3 separate regions of the Homo sapiens genome follow, and regions 1 and 2 are each linked to region 3. Evidence: promoter capture Hi-C in 16 types of primary human blood cells and fetal thymus (Javierre and others, 2016). All regions are on one chromosome and are shown on one strand. Each heading gives the region's core, a stretch centred on a gene start or on the middle of the fragment in contact. The rest is flanking DNA. Distances are from core to core; before and after follow the strand shown.

What was found. The method cuts DNA at HindIII sites, captures the fragments that hold promoters and counts their contacts. A CHiCAGO score of 5 or more calls a contact.
Region 1: the fragment with the promoter of LARS1 here is called in contact with the fragment with the promoter of G3BP1 in region 3 in 1 of 17 cell types (fetal thymus); the score reaches 5.7 in fetal thymus.
Region 2: a fragment that was not itself captured here is called in contact with the fragment with the promoter of G3BP1 in region 3 in 1 of 17 cell types (fetal thymus); the score reaches 6.9 in fetal thymus.

The regions. Positions count from the first base shown.
Region 1 is chr5:146,181,390-146,184,089 of GRCh38, forward strand. It overlaps LARS1 (leucyl-tRNA synthetase 1), which reads right to left and starts at 1,261. Exons shown (of 32, transcript NM_020117.11): 1 at 1,099-1,261. The coding sequence starts at 1,104. RefSeq lists enhancers at 785-944, 1,853-2,699. The HindIII fragment of the contact is 6,101 bases long and covers 1-2,700 here.
Region 2 is chr5:157,266,716-157,269,415 of GRCh38, forward strand. The region is part of intron 1 of CYFIP2 (cytoplasmic FMR1 interacting protein 2); the gene reads left to right. Among named protein-coding and RNA genes, the nearest start is that of CYFIP2, 1.9 kb to the left of the region's middle. RefSeq lists an enhancer at 515-624. The HindIII fragment of the contact is 455 bases long and covers 1,024-1,478 here.
Region 3 is chr5:151,770,623-151,773,322 of GRCh38, forward strand. G3BP1 (G3BP stress granule assembly factor 1) reads left to right here and starts at 1,332. Exons shown (of 12, transcript NM_005754.3): 1 at 1,332-1,414. It overlaps LOC100652758 (a long non-coding RNA gene), which reads right to left and starts at 1,554. Exons shown (of 2, transcript NR_132345.1): 1 at 1,081-1,554; 2 at 1-150. RefSeq lists enhancers at 1-140, 519-748, 1,006-1,300 and silencers at 1,509-1,838, 1,889-1,958. The HindIII fragment of the contact is 14,997 bases long and covers 1-2,700 here.

The DNA.
Region 1 (2,700 bases), core at 11-2,510, 5.6 Mb before region 3:
ATAAAACCAGGCGGGATGGCTCATGCCTGTAGTCCCAGCACTTTCGGAGGCTGAGACAGAAGGATCGCTTGACCCCAGGAGTTCGAAACCCTGTCTCTACTAAAAATACAAAAAATTAGCAGGGTGTAATGGAGCACGCTTGCAGTACCAGCTGTGGGGAGGCTGAGGTGTGAGGATCGCTTGAGCCCTAAGGTCCAGGCTGCAGTGAGCCATGATCACGCCACTGCATTCCAGTCTGGGTCACAGAGTGAGAACATCTCCCAAATTTAAAAAAATTTTTAAAAATTGCAACTGTACTACCCCACCGTACACTCCCTAGCACCCCTTCCTGCTCTATTTTTTCCCCACAGCATTTATCAGCACCTGACACAATATTTTACAATGTATTTTACCCACACACATAAACACTATGAAAAGAGAGATTTTTGTCTGTTTTACGGAGAGGCGCTCAATTTTTTCTTTTTTTTTTTTTTTTTTTTTTTTTTTTTTTGCTGTAAGTAGGAATCAACTTACATACTCCTCTCTCCACCTCGGCTTTATTTGTTTGTTTATTTATTTATTTTATTTTTAAGACGGAGTCTCACTCTGTCGCCCAGGCTGGAGTGCAGTGGCGCGATCCTGGCTCACAGCAGCCTCCCTCTCCCGGGTTCAAGCAATTCTCCTGCCTCAGCCTCCCGAGTAGCTGGGTTAACAGGCGCGCACCACTACGCCCGGCTAATTTATGTATTTTTGGTAGAAACGGGGTCTCACCATGTTGGCCAGGGTGGTCTCGAACTCCTGACCTCAAATGATCCACCCGCCTCGGCCTCCCAAAGTGCTGGGATTACAGCCGTGGGCCACCGTGCCCGGCTCTCCACCTCGATTTTAGAAACTCCAGAGAAATAACAAATATGATATCCAAGTACTCCGTAAAGTTAACAGACATCAGTTCGTGGTTCATAAACTAGCAAGAAAAAGCAAAGTCTCTACGAAAGGCACGCCTTAAGCGTGGCTCTCTTTTAGAAAAGGACTTTCCCTTCAGGACAGCACATGGAGAGCCCCTAGAGACTGGCCAGTCCGGCTCCAGGGCCCCTGCGGATTCTTCTCGCTCAAACTCACCGCCATTGCACCGCCCAGCCGACTGTGCAAATCCACGACAATGACCCTGGCGACCTCCACAAAGGAGTGGTTACCTTTCCCCTCCCTCTCGGGGATGCCAGGCCTCCCACGAAACTAAAGCACACGCTTCACACCTGCTGAGGCAATCATCCGGCTCCTTACTAACTACAGCCAAGGCATCTCACAGCCCGCCGGGAATTGTAGTTCCCAGACCACCCGAGCAGACACCCAGCAGGCGCTAACTGACTACAATTCCCAGAGAAAAACGGGTTATCGGAAGTCTACCCGATAGGCCCACTCAGAGGGGAACCGGCAGTGACGTCACTGGCATGTTGAACTACAAAGTCCATGATGCAGTGCGGGATCGCAGAATGCCGCGAGTGCGCCCTGGTTAGGTTGGAGTCCCTTGGCCATCAACCTTTTCACCCGGTAGAGCTGGTTGCCTGTCGGGATGCCAGGATACGCAGTTAATTACTATACGGTGACTGAGGTGCTACTTATGGCTTGCCACTATGCACAGATATTTTTTACTGTCAGTGGCATTCAACAGCCCAGCATTTAGACATTGTATAACCGCGTATTGACAATCTCCTTTTTTTTTTTTGAGACGCAGTATCGCTCTGTCGCCCAGGCTGGAGTGCAGTGGCGCGATCTTGGCTCAGTGCAACCTCGGCCTGCCGGATTCAAGCAATTCTCCTGCCTCAGGCTCCCGAGGAGCTGGGACTATGGGCGCGCGCCACCACACCGACTAATTTTTTGTATTTTTGGTAGAGACTGGGTTTCACCTTGTTAGCCAGGATGATCCCGATTTCCTGACCTCGTGATCTGCCTCCCTCGGCCTCCCAAAGTGCTAGGATTACAGGCGTGAGCTACCGTACCTAGCCAACAATCTCCTTTTTTTTTTTTTTTTTTTTTTTTTTTTTTGAGAGGGAGTTTCGTTCTGTCTCCAGGCTGGAGTGCAGTGGCGCGGTTTCGGCTCACTGCAACCTCCGCCTCCCGGGTTCAAGCGATTCTTCTGCCCCAGCCTCCTTAGTAGCTGGGACTACAGGCGCGCGCCACCGCGCCCAGCTAATTTTTGTATTTTCAGTAGAAACGGGGTTTCACCATATTGGCCAGGATGGTCTCGATCTCCTGAACTCGTGATCCGCCCGCCCCAGCCTCCCAAAGTGATGGGATTACAGGCGTGAGCCACCGTGCCCGGCCAACAATCTCCATTTTTAAGCAAGAGACTGAAAGCCTACCTGGTCCCATTGCCTGACTCAGACTATTTAGACCACTACCAAACAGGGCCAGGGGCGGTGGCCATAATCCCATTATTTTGGGATGCCGAGGTGGGCGGATGACCTGAGGTCAGGAGTTTGAGACCAGCCTGGCCAACATGGTGAAACCCCGTCTCTACTAAAAATACGAAAATTAGCTGGGTATGGTGGCGTGCACCTGTAGTCCCGGCTACTCGGGAGGCTGAGGCAGGAAAATTGCTTGAACCCAGGAGGCAGAGGGTGCACTGAGTCGAGATCGCACCACTGCACTCTATCTTGGGCGGCAGAGCGAGACTTCATCTCAAGGGAAAAAAAAAGACTGGTCGGGTACGGTGTCTCACAC
Region 2 (2,700 bases), core at 1-2,500, 5.5 Mb after region 3:
GCGCAGCGTCGATGTTTGGGGGCGGAGGGCTTTGATGAGAGAGGAGCAGGTCTGACCCGCTTGGAAGCTTTCTGGCCTACACTAGCATCGCTCACCAAGCTGGCTGCGGGCACGGTGGAAGTGGGGGAAGGGGATGAGTGGGCTGACTCCTGGGGGAAAAGGTGGTTTTTTTCTTGAGCTCTGAAGAACCAGGAAGATGCTTGCCTGTCTGTTGTGGCGTCTACTTTTCAGGTCAGCCCTACCCCTCACCCCAAAGAACAGCCCACCTATGTGCAAAAGAAGAGGAGGAGGTGCTCTCTGCTTGGGGATGGGGGCAGGTAGCATGTTCCACATAAGTATGGCCCTCTATATCCAGAACCCGGCTGGAAAGGACACTGACAGCCCAGGTGCCTCCCCAGCACAGGGAATCTGATTTTGACCTTTGCTTGCCTACTTTCCCCAGCACAGTGGAAACACTCACCAGGGCTGATGAGCCATCAGCTGTCCTTCCAGCTAGGCCAAGAATGGGACAAGGATCTTTTTCTGCTAGTTCCTGGGTGCCTGTGCCCTCAGCATGGGCAGGGAGACGGAGGCAGGCCTGCTGGCAGGAGGGGCAAATCAGGAGACTGTCGGTTCCTGTGTTCCCATTTCCTGCCTCCTGTCTGTGTCCCAGTTAGGGCAGTGGGTCTCACCTTACTCTTGGATACAGGCTGTGCCAGCAACCTGGGTCCCTGAGATCTTAGAGGGCAAAAATCAGGTCCATATCTTTGGGCAGGCCTGTGAAGGCCTTGATGGTTGCTTTCTCCACCATTAGACCCTCTCTCTGTGGCCCTCCTGGTGGCCTCCCACCTCCACTTCCATACAGTGCCCTGCCCTTCCCCCAGTCTCCAGTGTCAGAAATGGTTTTCAAGAAAGGAGCCAATGATTGTGTTTATCTTGAAGAGCTAAATACAAAAGAAGTTCCCATTTGATGCAGAGCAGGTGCTTTACAAGTCATTTGACCGGAAAAGAAACAGAGGATGGAGGCATTTTAATGGGAAACAAAGCTTTAATGGGAAACACTGTAGAAATATTTGCTATCACTAATGGTAGAATTTCAAACAGTGGGCTGGAAGTGGAGGTGGGGAGCTGGGTAGTTCTTTTGGGAACGGGTCCCTGAAATGACAATATCTAGCAGCTGTCAGCTCTGTATTTGGCAAGGGCAGCTTTGGCCCTGCAGGCAGGAATGCTGTAAGAGTGTGTATGCATGCATGTGCATGCGTGCATGTTTGTTTGACTGGTCAGGTGTTACTGTCACCAGAAGGCATTTTTTGAGCACCCAGTGTCCACTTTCGGGATGAGAAACTTGTGTACACAGGGTTCCTCGTTGGCATTGGCTGCCCTTTGCCAAGGCAATTATTAGACCTCAAGAAGATAGTGTTGTTGCTTACAAAGTCAGTGCCTCTAGCTAGTTGTGCGCACTGAGCCTCTGGCTGGGGGCATTAGCTCTCTGCTCACTAAGCTTCTTTATTATATTTCCTGGCCAGTTCTGACCGGTTCTGTAGGCACCCAAGGCTGCCTTGTTCAGTCCCTGCTGGAAAATGAAAAAGGAAAAACTTGCTTTAGGCATTAGGCCAAGAGTCGGATGTACAACCCAGTGGGGTTGGAGAGTTTTACTCAAATCAGATGCTGGCCCAGAGAAGGAAGTAGACATGAATTCAAAAACCGGTAAAAGGCCCTGGTAGAACACTACATGACCCCTCTGATAAATCATGCCCTCTCTGATGTTCAGTGGCCTCTGCTGCTGTCATCAACCAGAAAGCTGAATGAGATGATGAATCGGCTACAAGCTAATTAACGGGAAAAGCGCTCCTGGAAAACAGTACGGGTCCCAGTCCCTACGTTTAAAGATTGGACTACACTCTCAACGCAGCTTCTTTGGACCACTGTTGGCCCCAGGGGTCCACCAAAAGCGTCACAAAATGGCCTTTTGTAGCCTCCATGTGGCCACCGTAACAATGAGTCTATTTCTTTACTGGCAAGTATTAATTATTCACTTGTAATTGACAAAGCCAGACATCAGTCACCTCACTGGAGTCTTTATGAAAGGCTTTTGGTCCTGTCATTCTGAGGAGCAAAGCCATGCCTAGGGTCCAGGGGATGGCCCCTGCATCAGTAGTGAGATGGTGGGAGAAGGGGGGCAGGCTGCTGCCTTCTTGGCAGTGAATGGAGGCAGGGGAGGAACTAGAATATCTTTGGATGCTCTTACTACCCAAGGGGTGCATGAAAGTGCCGAGCAGAATGCTTAGCACATAGTAAGTACTAGCATATTTATGTATTTATTGTTATAATGTATTAATTACATAATCATTAAGAATTTGGCTTATGTATGTAATCAACCCTTGGCTATTACCAGCCCCTCTCCCTCCAGAGCTTTCCTGAATTTTGCTTTTTTGAGGGAAGTTGGTCTCTGTGACCAGTAAACCCAGCCCCAAGTTTACCGGCCGAAGGAAGGGAAAGTTAAGAGTGATAGGGCATGAAGTGAAAGGCTTCAGGTGGGAAGTGCTCTTAAGTAGCACAAGAGAGGTGGGTGGAACCTGAGTAGGTAGGGAGAAGTGGGAGGGAACAAGCCAAGCAGAAGCCCAGGGCCATTCTCACATTTCAACACGTAGAGTTAAGGAAGGGCCTCTTCCTCTGTGAGAATTCAGCATTTTGCAACCATCCAAAAATGTTGAGGGCATG
Region 3 (2,700 bases), core at 82-2,581:
GCGCAGGGAGGCGAGCGGGCCCGGCTCCCCAGAGGCCGAGGCCGGCGCCCGTGCTCCTTCAGCTCGGCCTCTCTCCCCCGACATAGGCGCTCCACATGCTTCATTTCCAAAATTCTCAGCAAAACTCCGCGGGAGACCCTGGTCACATGCCTGGAACGAGAACAAACCGGGGCGTGTCTGTGCCGGACGGCTGGGAACCAAAGCTATTTCCATAGAAATAGGGCCGGCCAGCCTTGAGTTGTAGCCCCGCCAGTGCCTGAAACGCCAGGAGGAGGGGACGAGTTGCCTTTTAAAGGCGTAGCGACGAGAATAAGCCCCCACCCGCGGCAATTCGAGGCTGAACAATAGTGGTGCAGCTCGGGACGTGGTGCGAGGGCCCACACTCCACTGGAGCACGCGCGGACCACCGTGCCTCAGCTGCCACAAAGGGAGCCTCGCCACACGCCCGCGGCCGCCTCGCAGCGCCCGCCAAGAAGCGCCTGGCGGAAGGGCGCACTCTCAGGCCTTCCACCGGCGACCTTCCGGCGGGAGCCTGCGGGCGGCGCAGGAACGACCCTCCTTCCTCTGCCCCGCAGCAGTGCTGAGTAATGGTGAGAGCAGCAAGGCCCTTGGCCGCCGCACGTAAGAAAAAAGTTGTAATAAAAAGAAAACAACCCGGGAAACTTTACTAGTTGGTTCGCCAGGTACAAACCTATGCGGAAAAGGCGGGGTACAGGCCTCGGAGGCCGGACCCAACCAGTCAGGGAAAGAAAGAGGGCAGAAGCCGCAGGCTGCACAGCCTCACAACCGCCCAGAGGGCACGGCGGCCCTGGGGCTCGGTCTCTTCCGAGCAGAGCAACCTCCGTGTCTATCAGCTCCTTCCGGCGTTGCGATTGGCCACAGGCTGTCTTGGCCTCTCGGACGCCCGCCTCCTAGTTGCTAGGGGTTTACTTCCCCAAAGTACACGGGCCCCACCTTGTGGCGCAACCGCTCCTGCATGGAAAACGGATCTCCGCCCAGGGGAAGACGTGTTAACGAATAAGAGCAGCCCCACACATTTATTGGCTACTTTGAGTATCAGTCAAAGAACTGCTCACTCGCCTTTCTATTGTACTTTTCGGTTATTGGTCTCTCTTAGTGCCGATCTGTTACTAGGGAAACGAGATCCTCACAGTCTCATAGGCAGGAGTCAAAGCCAATCAAGAGCCACGCCTTCATCCCCGAGTCAGTGCCCAATTACTGTTCGAAGAGCCCTGAGGACGCGGTCGGGATTGGTCATCCCGTCGCCCGACCTGGCCGCAACAAGTTAGGGTGAGTGGCAGTTATATAGACCGGCGGCGGAGCACGCGTGTGTGCGGACGCAGTTGCGTGAGGGGTTTGTACTATCCTCGGTGCTGTGGTGCAGAGCTAGTTCCTCTCCAGCTCAGCCGCGTAGGTACGCCGGGGTGTGGGCGGGGCAGGGAGGCCAGAGGACTAAGCCGAGCCGCAGCACTTGTGAGAGGGAGAAGTCTGAGTGGCGCTCGCGGCGGCCGCGCCAGTCGCGTCCCCCACCCCAACCCCCACCCCAACGGCCGCAGGCGCGCGCGGCGGACGGACGGGCGCGCGGCGGCTCCTCGCTCCCGCTCCCGTCCCGGCTGGGGCGCGTGGCCGTGTCCGCCGCGTGCGCGTGCTGCGTCCAACGGCCTCGCGGGGCAGGAGTAAGCCGCGGCCGCCGCCTGGGCCCCAGGGCGGTCTCTGGGGCCAGGGGTCCCGCGCCCAGCGTTTCCCGCCCGCCACCCTCTCCGCCACGCGCCCGCGGCACCTTTTCCTCCCCTGGCCAAGGGATCCAGTCGGTTCGGACCAGAAGGAGGCTTTCGTTTAGGGTGGGGGCAGCACTAAAGTCTGATTGGAGTCTTGCGGTCCGCGCGTCGCAGAAGCGCCTTCGGTTTTGCAGAGAGCAAAGAGGGAGCAGCGAGTGCACGGAGTGGTAGTAACAACCAATGTTCTTTCCACGCCCTCACTGTGTGTCCGGCACTGTGCGGAGCCACTTTTCTGCCTTTCATTTGATTCTTGCAGTGAGCTGGCGAGGTGGGTACGGCTATCCTCCTTCCTTAGCGGCCCAAGGCACGGGTTTGGAGAGCGGGGTCACAGGCACGCACGGGAAGGGCGGGGATTTGTTGACGCCGGGCCCTCTGACTCCGAGCTCCCCGCTTCCCAAGCCTGTTTTTAGTCTTTGCCCCCAGAGCACTTGTCCCTCGGGGCAGCATCAGCCTCAAAAGGCCACCTGCCGAGAAGGCTGCAGCGGCATTTGTACTTGGGCTAGTTCTGGGCTTCCAGGGAGACAAGGGTTGGAAGTGGGAATGTGACAAAGGAAAAGGGTTTGGGCTTCCTTTCTACGTGTACTTGTACAGGCCCTGGGTAGATGTGCCGCCACCGTAGCTTCTGGAAAAAAGTAGGGAAAACGATGAGTAAGTGCAAATGAACATGGACTGTGTTCCTCATCGGGTTTGAATCTCAGATTGCTGATGGGAAATTCCCGCCAGCGGGAAGTTAGGCTCCGGTTTTAGACGTTGAATTTTTTTTTCTCTACTTTTTTTTTAATTGGAGGAGACTTTTGCAGAAAGACCTTGAGAAGATTCACTTTATAGTTGAAGGGAATGAGGTGCAAAGCGACGAATTTAAGATCTCACTAGCATCTGTGGGTTAAAATACGGAATTGGAATAGAAAGGTTGGCGCCCAGT